Linked DNA regions of Homo sapiens: all the other regions are linked to region 1. Evidence: promoter capture Hi-C in human tissues and cell types (Jung and others, 2019). All regions are on one chromosome and are shown on one strand. The core of a region is centred on a gene start or on the middle of the fragment in contact, and the rest is flanking DNA. Distances in the headings are between cores, read along the strand shown. Region 1 holds the start of ZNF433 (zinc finger protein 433). Region 2 has its middle 19 kb from the start of ZNF443. Region 3 has its middle 18 kb from the start of ZNF563. Region 4 holds the start of ZNF799 (zinc finger protein 799).

The links. The method cuts DNA at HindIII sites, captures the fragments that hold promoters and counts their contacts. A contact is called where the count stands out against the background at its distance.
Region 2: a fragment that was not itself captured here is called in contact with the fragment with the promoter of ZNF433 in region 1 in 1 of the 25 tissues and cell types used here (lymphoblastoid cells).
Region 3: a fragment that was not itself captured here is called in contact with the fragment with the promoter of ZNF433 in region 1 in 5 of the 25 tissues and cell types used here (H1 embryonic stem cells, IMR-90 fibroblasts, aorta and 2 more).
Region 4: a contact is called between the fragment with the promoter of ZNF799 here and the fragment with the promoter of ZNF433 in region 1, in 2 of the 25 tissues and cell types used here (bladder and small bowel).

What each region holds. Positions count from the first base shown.
Region 1 is chr19:12,034,427-12,037,126 of GRCh38, reverse strand. ZNF433 (zinc finger protein 433) reads left to right here and starts at 1,448. Exons shown (of 4, transcript NM_001308348.2): 1 at 1,448-1,590. The coding sequence starts at 1,588. It overlaps ZNF433-AS1 (ZNF433 and ZNF878 antisense RNA 1), which reads right to left. Exons shown (of 3, transcript NR_134929.1): 2 at 1,355-1,573. RefSeq lists silencers at 1,334-1,493, 1,734-1,783, 1,794-1,913. The HindIII fragment of the contact is 13,566 bases long and covers 1-2,700 here.
Region 2 is chr19:12,458,480-12,461,179 of GRCh38, reverse strand. No RefSeq gene overlaps it. Among named protein-coding and RNA genes, the nearest start is that of ZNF443, 19 kb to the right of the region's middle. The HindIII fragment of the contact is 6,925 bases long and covers 1-2,700 here.
Region 3 is chr19:12,314,753-12,317,456 of GRCh38, reverse strand. No RefSeq gene overlaps it. Among named protein-coding and RNA genes, the nearest start is that of ZNF563, 18 kb to the left of the region's middle. The HindIII fragment of the contact is 6,161 bases long and covers 1-2,704 here.
Region 4 is chr19:12,400,008-12,402,707 of GRCh38, reverse strand. It overlaps ZNF799 (zinc finger protein 799), which reads left to right and starts at 1,437. Exons shown (of 4, transcript NM_001080821.3): 1 at 1,437-1,640. The coding sequence starts at 1,638. RefSeq lists enhancers at 1,283-1,332, 2,053-2,142 and a silencer at 1,663-1,822. The HindIII fragment of the contact is 18,323 bases long and covers 1-2,700 here.

The sequences.
Region 1 (2,700 bases), core at 199-2,698:
GGTGTTTGAGGTATTTTTGAGACCCTTCATTCTGATAAATTTGCTGGCATCACACAGACCAATAAACTGGCTCACCTGCTCCAGTGGCCCCTAGCCAAGAACTGACTCAGTGCAAGAAGACAGCTGAGACTTCCTGTGATATCCTTTTCGCGACCAATCAGCATTCCCCATTTTCCAGCCTTCTGCTCACCAAATTATCTTTAAAACCCTAGCCTCGGCCGGGTGCGGGGGCTCAGGCCTGTAATCCCAGCACTTTGGGAGGCCGAGGCGGGTGGATCATGAGGTCAGGAGTTTGAGACCAGCCTGACCAACATGGTAAACCCCGTCTCTACTAAAAATACAAAAATTAGCCGGGCATGGTGGCGCATGCCTGTAATCCCAGCTACTCAGGAGGTTGAGGCAGGAGAATCGCTTGAACCCGGGAGGCGGAGGTTGCACTGAGCCGAGATTGCGCCACTGCACTCCAGCATGGGCGACAGAGAGATTCCGTCTCAAAAAAAAACCAAAAAAACAAAACCTAGCCTCCCATTTTTTAGGGAGACAGAATTGAATAAAAATAAAACTCTTCTCTTTCATTTAGCCGGCTCTATGTATATTAAACTCCACTGCAATTCCCTGTCTTTTTTTTTTTTTTTTTTTTCGGAGACAGGGTCTCACTCTGACATCCAGGCTGGTAAAATCACAGCTCACTGTGGCCTCGACCTCTCTGGGCTCAGGCGATCCTCTCATTTCAGCCTTCCGAGTAGCTGGGACTGCAAACATGTACCACCACGCCCGACTAATTTTTGTATTTTTTGTAGAGGCGGGGTTTTGCTATGTTACCCAGGCTGGGCTTAAGTTCCTAGGCTCAAGCAATCTGCCTGCCTTGGCTTCCCAAAGTGGTGGGGTTACAGGCATGAGCTACCCCCACCCCCCCAGCCCACCGCCGGACGAGCTAAAGTTTCTATTCAACAGTACTCTATGGCAGGGGTCCCCAACCCCCGGTCCATGGCCTGTAAGGAACCAGTCCGCACAGCAGGAGGTGAGCGGCTGGCGGGCGAGCCAGCGGGCATTATCGCCAGAGATATGCTTCCTGTCAGATCAGCAGAGGCATTAGTCTGTCATAGGAGCCCGAACCCTATTGTGAGCTGCACATGCGAGGGATCTAGGTTGGGTTCGCCTTATGAGGATAAAATGCCTGATCTGAGGTGGAAGTTTCATTCCGAAACTATCTGCCCCCGTAGGAGAACTGTCTTCCACGAAACCGGTTCTGGTGCTAAAAAGGTTACAGACCTCTGGCTTAAAGAATCTATCGCTGGATCCGGTCAAACCCGTTTTCAGAGCCCCGTTACCAAGGGCTTCTATTGTCACTCACGGCTGAGGGGGCGGGGCCCGGCGCTTCGTCCAATCAGGGGCGCTGGGCGGGGCCTGCCGAGTGTCCATCGGGGAGGGCGAAGGCCCTGCTCTCCTCGGTTCCCGGCTCCAGGCGGCGAGCTGAGGTTGGGAGCCTGGCTTTCCCCTCCGAGAGGGTTCAGGTGCCTCTGCCATAGCTTCTGTCGCCTGTGCTGTGACCCGCACTGGTCGTGGGAGTCACCTGAAAGGCAAGAAATGGTGAGCGTGCGGGCCAGGGGTCCCGAGGCGGGGGAGGAGCTGGTTGGAACCGGCCGGAACCGGCTGTGGTGGGACCCGGGCCTCCCCGCGGCGACTCCGGGGTCTGGGACCCGATTTCCCGTGGGACAGCTCGGCCCTTGGTCCCCTTGGCCCCACAGTGGGGCTGGGCCGGCCGCCGGGACCCGGGCGTCTCGTCCTGTCCCTGCGCGGTGACTGTCACCCAGTTCCCAGAGCCCTCTCTGGGCAGCTCCGCGCCCGCTGCCCCGCGTCTCCCCACATTGTGCGGGGACTACGCGAGGGTCATGGGGGGATCCCGCCTCGGGTGTGGGGGTTTGTGTAGGAGGAGGGTGGGCTGTGGGGTCCCCAGTAGCGCCTTTCTCCTCTTAAAAATTAAACTGAGACACGTTAACAATTATAGTTTTGCTTCTCAGAATAGGTTTTAAAAAATATATTAATAATTAGAGTTCCTTTGAGATTCCTGAATGATAAACACCCAGTCCTGGCTTGTAATTTGTTAACGGAAAATGCCAAGCTGTGTAAAATAACTTAAAGAAGTTTATTCAGAGCCGAATAGGAGAGGCCTCAGCTGAGGAAAACACAACCCCAGGAGGCCTGAAGTAAGTGGTCCCGAGGCGGCTCAAGACTGTTTTTATTCATTTCAGGGAGACAGGAATTGCAGGGAGAATCATGCATCAATGCCTGGAAAGGTGTAAGTTCCTTTGGCAGAAAGGGCGGGACCTGTGGAAGGGGGGTTAGAAGGTGCAGGTGGTTGAGGGATTCTGAAGGTGGCCGTTGGTGGAGAGTGTGAAGCTTTGTCTAAAACTTCGAGGCGGTAGGAAGGATTGCTTAAGTGAAGAGGGTCTGGTATCTGTCATATGATTTCATCCCACCCAAAACAAAAGACCTGTTTCTTTAGATTTTGTGAATTCTAAGATTTGACTTACCTCTTGCCTTGCATGGCCTTAGGTCTTGTTTGTAATTTGGTTTCTTATTGTCACAGAGAGTCTGTGTTTCCAGTTGGCTGATGTCTGTTTTAACATGAAGGTGGGTCAGTGGCTATGTGGAAACTCCTAAAGGAAGCGGGTATAATGAGGCCTGTCCAGGTATAGT
Region 2 (2,700 bases), core at 173-2,672, 420 kb before region 1:
TTCAGATTAAGTTTTTTTATTATTATACTTTAATTTCTAGGGTACATGTGCACAACGTGCAGGTTTATTACATAGGTATACACGTGCCATGTTGGTGTGCTGGACCCATTAACTCGTCTTTTACATTAGGTATATCTCCTAATGCTATCCCTCCCCCCTCCCCCCACCCCATAACAGGCCCGTGTGTGATGTTCCCCTTCCTGTGTCCAAGTGTTCTCATTGTTCAATTCCCACCTGTGAGTGAGAACATGTGGTGTTTGGTTTTTTGTCCTTGTGATACTTTGCTGAGAATGGTGGTTTCCAGCTTCATCCATGTCCCTACAAAGGACATGAACTCATCCTTTTTTATGGCCGCATAGTATTCCATGGTGTATATGTGCCACATTTTCTTAATCCAGTGATTTTCAGATTAAGTTTTTAAGTTTATTGAGTTAATCCTCATATATTCTGAGTCAATATTATGTGCATACAAGATCAAGTATTTTCCTTAGGAATTTTTTATTTTTTATTCTTAATATAGTTATGATTTTTTCCCAGAAAATTTCTCATGCATTCATAATACCAAAAACTTAAATCATGGTTGTTTCAGTGCCTTTTTTTCAAAGATCACCAGGATCACACCTGTAGTCAAGAGAAGAGTGTTAAGAATTGTAGGAATAAGAATGATCATAAACCATAAATGACTCTGGGGAGTATCAGTAAGAGGGTGCTCGGCTGGGCGCAGTGGCTCATGCCTGTAATCCCAGTACTTTGGGAGGCCAAGGTGGGCAGATCACAAGGTCAGGAGTTCGAGACCAGCCTGGCCAACATGGTGAAACCCCATCTCTACTAAAAAATATATAAAAAATAGCCGGGCATGGTGGCGTGCACCTGTAATCCCAGCTACTCAAGAGGCTGAGGCAGGAGAATTGCTTGAACCCCAGGAGGTGGAGGTTGCAGTGAGCCGAGATCACGCCACTGTGCTCCAGCCTGGGCGACAGAGCAAGACTCCTTCTCAAAACAACTTCTTTTTGGATTTGGATTTGTTGGGTGACTTGATTGCTAATCACCAAACTGAGACACTCCTGTGTGTGTTGCCTGCTGTGAGGTGAACTTAATTGTGTCACTGGTAATCATAATTCTTATCTAGAGGCAGGAAGAATGAAGTGGAGCTAAACCTAATTCCTAAGAAACCACTCACTTGGATTAGTGAGTAGAGGGCAATTTTGGTCATTTTAATGGCTTCAACTCTGTTCTCTTTTACCATTTTTAGAGACATGGTTATTGTTTTTGTCTTGATCCATCATGATTGCTGAGTAGCTTTGTCTGATGAAGGAAATGTGACATTTTTCTCTTCAACAGGATAAGACTTGGCCTTATCTGAGTGTGAGGTCAGATCCTAGTCCTGTGGAACTGCTCTTAACCTTTCTTATTATCTAAACATGGAAATATTTCTTATGGTGTATTGGACAATGTTTTCCACAAAATATCTCAGTCAAAATATGTAAGTTCACTGAGTCTTTAGCAAACTATATACTTTTTTTTCTCTTTTGTGCACTAGCAGAGTCCTGTAAGTGTAGATAAGTTTTCAGAGACCACAAACCTAGCAAGGTGCAAAGACAGAATCACTGTTCAAATCAAGCCATCTTGCTCTTGATGCTGATTTTTTTAACCTTTCTCATAGGCCTGGCACTGTAGTATCAAAGCATACACAATTCAGCACAAATAATCAAGACATTGTAGGCTATGGATATAGAAACATGAAACAAGTTCTTGCCTTCCTGTTGCTTATAGATTTGGGAAAAGAGAGATGGTTAATAAAAGGTGAGGATTTGGTTTTTAGAAAGCAATTAAGATCTTTGAAGGAAATGAAATAACAACCAACCTGTGAGATTAATAGGGAAGCTATGGTTGTGTTGGATACCTTAGCTTTGGAGGGTAGGGACCTCCAATATTGTCATTGATCATTTATTTCCATTATCTAACATATCTTTTTTTTTTTTTTTTGAGACAGGGTCTTTCTCTGTCATCAGGCTGGAGTGTGATCTTGGCTCACTGCAACCTCCGCCTCCTGGGTTCAAGCCATTCTCCTGCCTCAGCCTCCGGAGTAGCTGGGATTACAGGCGCCCACCATCACGCCCAGCTAATTTTTTTTTTTTTGTATTTTTAGTAGAGACGAGGTTTCACCATGTTGGCCAGGATGGTCTTGATCTTCTGACCTCATGATCCACCCGCCTCGGCCTCCCAAAGTGCTGGGATTACAGGCGTGAACCACCGCGCCTGGCCTTTTTTTTTGTTTAGACGGAGTCTCACTCTGTTGCCAGGCTGGAGTGCAGTGGCGTGATTTTGGCTCACTGCAACCCCCTCCTCCCAGGTTCAAGTGATTCTGCTGCCTCAGCCTCCTGAGTAGGCTACATGTGTGTGCCACCACGCCCAGCTAATTTTTGTATTTTTAGTAGAGACGGGGTTTCACCATGTTGGCCAGGATGGTCTCAATCTCTTGACCTCGTGATCCACCTGCCTCAGCCTTCCAGAGTGCTGGGATTACAGGCATGAGCCACTGAGCCTGGCCTATCTAACATATCTTATTAAAACACTGAGGAACTGCTCAGGTTTGATGTATGCTGGGGAACAATACAGTCCTACATCCCTGGGATGAACAGTAATGATTCCCCATAAACAAAGGTGTAGATATGGTTCATCTTTATTTTTATAATGGAT
Region 3 (2,704 bases), core at 55-2,554, 280 kb before region 1:
TTTGGGTTAGACACAGTTGCTCACCTCTGTAATCCTAGCACCTTAGGAGCCCAAGACAGGTGGATCACTTGAGCCCAGGAGTTAGAGGCCAGCCTGGGTAATGTGGCAAAACCCTGTCTCTACAGAAGATACACAAATTAGCCAGGTGTGGTGACATGTACCTGTAGTCCCAGCTACTAGGGAAGCTGAGGTGGGAGGATCGCTTGAGCCTGGGAGGTTGAGGTTGCGGTGAGTCAAAATCACATCACTGCATTCTAGCATGGGCAACAGAATGAGACCCTGTCTCAAAAAAATAATAACAATAAAAAATATTTGCATGTAACCTACCCACATCCTCCTGTATACTCTAAATCATCTGTAGATTAGTTAAAATACATCATGCATCATAGAAGCTATGTAAATAGTTGTTATTATATTGTTTAGTGAATCATGATATGAGAAAGACCCTACACATATTCAGTACAGACCCACCCACATAATACATGTCACCTAGAGCATTATAAATCTTTTCTTTCAACACTCATAGATTGCTTTTGTTTAATGACCTGAAAATGTGTTAACATTCACCCAACAAAAGTGTAATGATGATTATTGCAATATCGTGCCTAATGTTGTGATGTGTTGAGTCAGCTAGATGTGTGACACCACAGATAAGCAGTGAGACCTCAGGCTAACTCGAATCTTGACAGGATGTCAACATGATCAACTATATTGGAAGAAACAGATTCTGACTGCAGATACTGAATTTTTGGAGCAGTCTAAATAATACTAATGTCAGAATCTGTTCAATTTGAGGACTGAAGATCTTTAAGCATTGAAGGCTGTCTTCATATTTGCAGATATTTAATTAGAAACATTGTAGGAAGCTAGTTTTTTTTTTTTTAAACTTTGCAACGTTTGTGAGCATGTAATCTCTGGGGTGACATGGAGGCTTTGTTCCATGGAAGAATCTTAATTGAGGATGATAATCTTTAACACTTGCGCCTTGTAGAAGCTGTAGGTGCCCTAAAACTGCTTCCAATTTTTCTTTTTTTTTCTTTTTCTTTTCTTTTTTTTTTTTTTTAAGACAAGATCTCACTCTGTCACCCTACAGTGCATGGCTCACTGCAGCCTCAACTTCCTGGGCTCAAGTGATCTTCCCACCTCAGCCTCCCAAGTAGCTGGGATTATAGGCACACATCACGATGCCTGGCTACTTTTTGTGTTTTTTGTGGAGACAAGGTTTCACCATGTTTCCCAGGCTGGTCTTGAACTCCTGGAATCAAGAGATCTGCCTGCCTTGGCCTCCCAAATTACTAGGATTACAGGGTGAGCCACCACACCCAGCCTTCAGATTTTTCAAGTATCAAAATCTATAGCACTGCTTCTTTTTTTTTTTTTCAGACAGAGTCTCACTCTGTCGCTGAGGCTGAAGTGCAGTGGTGCAATCTCAGCTCACTGCAGCCTCCACCTCCCAGGTTCAAGTGATCCTCCTGCATCAGCCACCTGAGGAGCTGGGATTACAATCTCAGCTCACTGCAACCTCCACCTCCCAAGTTCAAGTGATCCTCCTGCCTCAGCCACCCAAGTAGCTGGGAATACAGGCATGCACCACCATGCCCAGCTAATTTTTGTATTTTTAGTAGAGACAGGGTTTCGCCATGTTTGCCAAGCTGGTTTTGAACTCCCTGTGACTTCAAGTGATCTGCCTGCCTTGGCCTCTCAGAATGCTGGGATTACAGGCATGAGCCACCACTTATGGCACTGCCTCTTTATTTATTTATTGAGACTGAGTCTCACTCTGTCACCCAGGCTGGAGTGCAGTGGCACGATCTCGGCTCACTGCAAACACTGCCTCCTGGGTTCAAGCGATTCTCATGCCTCAGCCTCCCAAGTAGCTGGGATTACAGGTGCCCGCCACCACACCCAGCTAATTTTTGTATTTTTAGTAGAGACGGGGTTTCACCATGTTGGCCAGGCTGGTCTTAAACTCGTGACCTCAGGTGATTCACCCGCTTCGGCCTCCCAAACTGTTGGGATTACAGGCGTGAGCCACCACGCCTGGCGGCACTGCCTCTTCTAAATCTACATCATCATCATCATCATCTATAGAGGATTTCAGCATATCTTCTAGTTCCTTGTTAGTAAAGGTTTCTTCTTTGCTCTTCTGTGTGTTCCTCAACATTGTCTTCACTTGTGTCAGAGATAGCCTTCCCCACCAACTTTCCTTACATTTAAGATATTTCTGACTATCATATCGATAGTGCAGAAGCGCCTGAAATCATTGACTTCCTCACTCCATAATGGCTTCCAACACACTTTGGCTGTCTTGAGCTGTAGGGCATTTACAGCCTCCGCAATAAACACAATCGTTTCTGCAGTTGGGAAGCTCTTCCATAAATCCTGTATGACATGGTGAGGGTTATTATCAAGACAGCATAAATCCTTCCAAAAGTCCAGTGGGTGTAAGACACCTTGAGGCACTTGATGATGCTTTGATCAAGTAGTTGTAGCAGTGATGTAGTTTTAGGAGGCAGGAACATCACTTCCCCATTTTTATCGGCATAACAGAGAGAAGAGAGATGCCAGGAGCGTTGTCAGTTATGAGGAGGGCCTTGAGTGGCAGCCCCTTCTTTTCAAGGTATTCATTCACATCAGGAATGAAGCAGTGGTAGAACCAAGTCCTCGTGTGTTTTTGTCAGGACACGGGCAGGCAAGTTTCGCT
Region 4 (2,700 bases), core at 188-2,687, 370 kb before region 1:
GGGCAAACACCATATAATCATTTCAATGTGCACTGAAAAAGCTTTTGATAATATTTAACATCCCTTCATGATAAAAACCCTAAAAAAAAACTGGGTATAGAAGCAGCTACCTTAACATAATAAAAGCCATATATGGCAGACCCACAGCTAGCATGATAATGAATGAGGAAAAACTGAAAGCCTTTCCTGTAAGATCTGGAACACAATAAGAATGCCCACTTTTACCACTGTTGTTCAGCACAGTACTCGAAGTCCCAGCTAGAGCAATAAGTCCAAAAAAAAAAAAAAAAAGAAATAAAGGGCATCTATATTGGGAAGGAAAGGAAGAAGTCAAATTATCCTGGTTTGCATATAATATGATCTTATATCTGGAAATACCTAAAGACTCCACCAAAAAAGTATTAGAACTGAGAAATAAATTCAGTAAAGTTGCAGGATACAATATTAACATACAAAAATCAGTAACATTTTTATATGCCAACAGTGAACAATCTGAAGCTACTTGAGAGGCTGAGGTGGGAGGATTGCTTGAGCTTGGGAGGTAGAGGTTGCAGTGAGCCATGATGGCCCCACTGCACTCCAGCCTAGGCAACAGAGCAAGACCCCATCTCAAACAACCAAAAACGTGTAGAAGGATGGTTACCACAGGCTGGGAAAAGTAGTAGCGAGGAGTAGTTATGGGGGAAGTGGGGATGGTTAATAGGTATAAAAAATAGTTACAAAGAATGAATAAGACCTAGTATTTGCTAGCACAACAGAGTGACTATAGTAAAAAATAATTTAATTGTACATTGAAATATTTTGAAAAATTTCATTGAAAAAGAGTATAATTGGAGCCAGGCGCGATGGCTCACGTCTCTAATCCCAGAACTTTGGGAGGCCAAGGTGGGCGGATCACGAGGTCAGGAGTTCGAGACCAGCCTGGCCAACATGGTGAAACCCGGCCTCTACTAAAACATACAAAAATTAGCCGGGTGTGGTGGCGCGCACCTGTAATCCCAGCTACTCGGGAGGCTGAGGCAGAATTGTTTGAACCCACCTAGGAGGCGGAGGTCGCAGTGAGCCTCGCACCATTGCACTCTAGCCTGAGCCACGGAGCAAGACTCCCTCTCTCTCTCTCTCTCTCTCTCTCTCTCTCGGAAAAAAAAAAAAAAAAAAAAAAAAAAGTATAATTGTTTTGTCAGTCAGTGTACAGGAGGAAGAAGCAGGAGGTCCTATTGAGTACAGGCAGGAAATTCCGCTTAAGTGCAAATATCCCTCGGGAGGATTCAGATCAAAGAGCAGGGAGGAAGCCCGCCCTGCCAAGGGCTGTGTCAGGAACTTGCTCATCTGGCTCCACTCAGCTGTGCAAGATCGCTTCTTCTGTCAATCAGTCCACGAGGGGCGGCACCTGACGCCGTATCCAGTAAGGGCCGTGGGGCGGGTTCGTGGGAACTGTCAATCAGGCGCGCTTCCCAGAGGAGTGTGTGGTTGAAAAAGCCCGCGGCGTCTTCTCCACCCACCTGCGCTGGGCGCTCGGTGCTCGGCTCTGTAGCTAAGAGACGACCTGGAAGTTCCGTGGCAGCCTGTGTCCCGCGGGAACCCGCATTGGCAGCGGGAGCCGTCCGGAGGACCTGGGACACCGCGGAAGTCGGGAAATGGTGCGTGTGCTGGGCCGGCGTCCCGAGGCGGGGGAGGGGCTGGGTGGAACCTGCAGTAATCGGCTGTGGCTGGACCCGGGCCTCCCCAAGGGCTACTCCGGGATCTACGGACCCGGGTTCCCCTGGCGTAGGTCGGCCCTCGGCCGCAGGGTGGGGCTGGGCATGCAGCCGGGACCCCGGGCGTCCTGTCCCGTTCCTGCGCGGCGACTGCGGCCCCGGCGCCCTCTCTGGGCAGCTCCGCGCCCGCAGCCTCGCGTCTCCCGAGATTGTGCGGCTGTAAGCAACACAGGTTCGCGGCCCGACTCACTGCACCGAGACGCTGAGGGCTGCAGCAGAAACAGTTTAATAGCCAGAGAGGGGAGGACACCCCAGATCCGCCTCCCTGAGGGATTTGGGGTCTGGACGGGGGCGGCTGGGTGTAGGGTCGTTGGTTGGTGGGGAAGTGAGGGGTGAATCCTGGGACAGGAGGTGAAGAAACCGCATTCTGCTGAATGGGCTCCCTCGTTGGGACTTCAACCTGATTGGCGCCAGCCTTTGCTGGGATTCAGGATCTGAGAACTCCGGCGACTCTTGAGCAGTTCTCAGAGATCTTATCCCCAGGCACAATGGGGAAGCCGGCGGTCAGCGTCTGCTGTGACCTGACTCTCAGGGAGGCGGCCCCTTGAGGCAGCGGGGCTGAGGGCACCTGGTTAATATCTAACTGCAATCTCGCCTCCAGCCTGGCTCGCAGTTCCTGTGAACCCGGTGAGGAGGCTGCACGGTGACGACGAGTCACCAGGTGGAATCCAGACTCGTGTGTGGGGTTTGTGTGTGGGAGGAGCTGTGGTCTCCGTGGTCCTCAGTCCCTTCTTTCTTTCCAAGGGCGACCGTTTCCCCTCTGAGTCTTCCAAAGATGTGGTTAGCAGGGTCTCAAATCCACCACTGTGTTCTCTCATCCTGACTCCTCCTAGGGCTGGCAGCAAATCTCTTGGTTTCCAGAGACTTCCCCAGGCTAACCTTCTGTCCTTAATTCACAGCAACGGTATGAACTGTTTGGCCCCCAGGCGATATTTCACTAGTT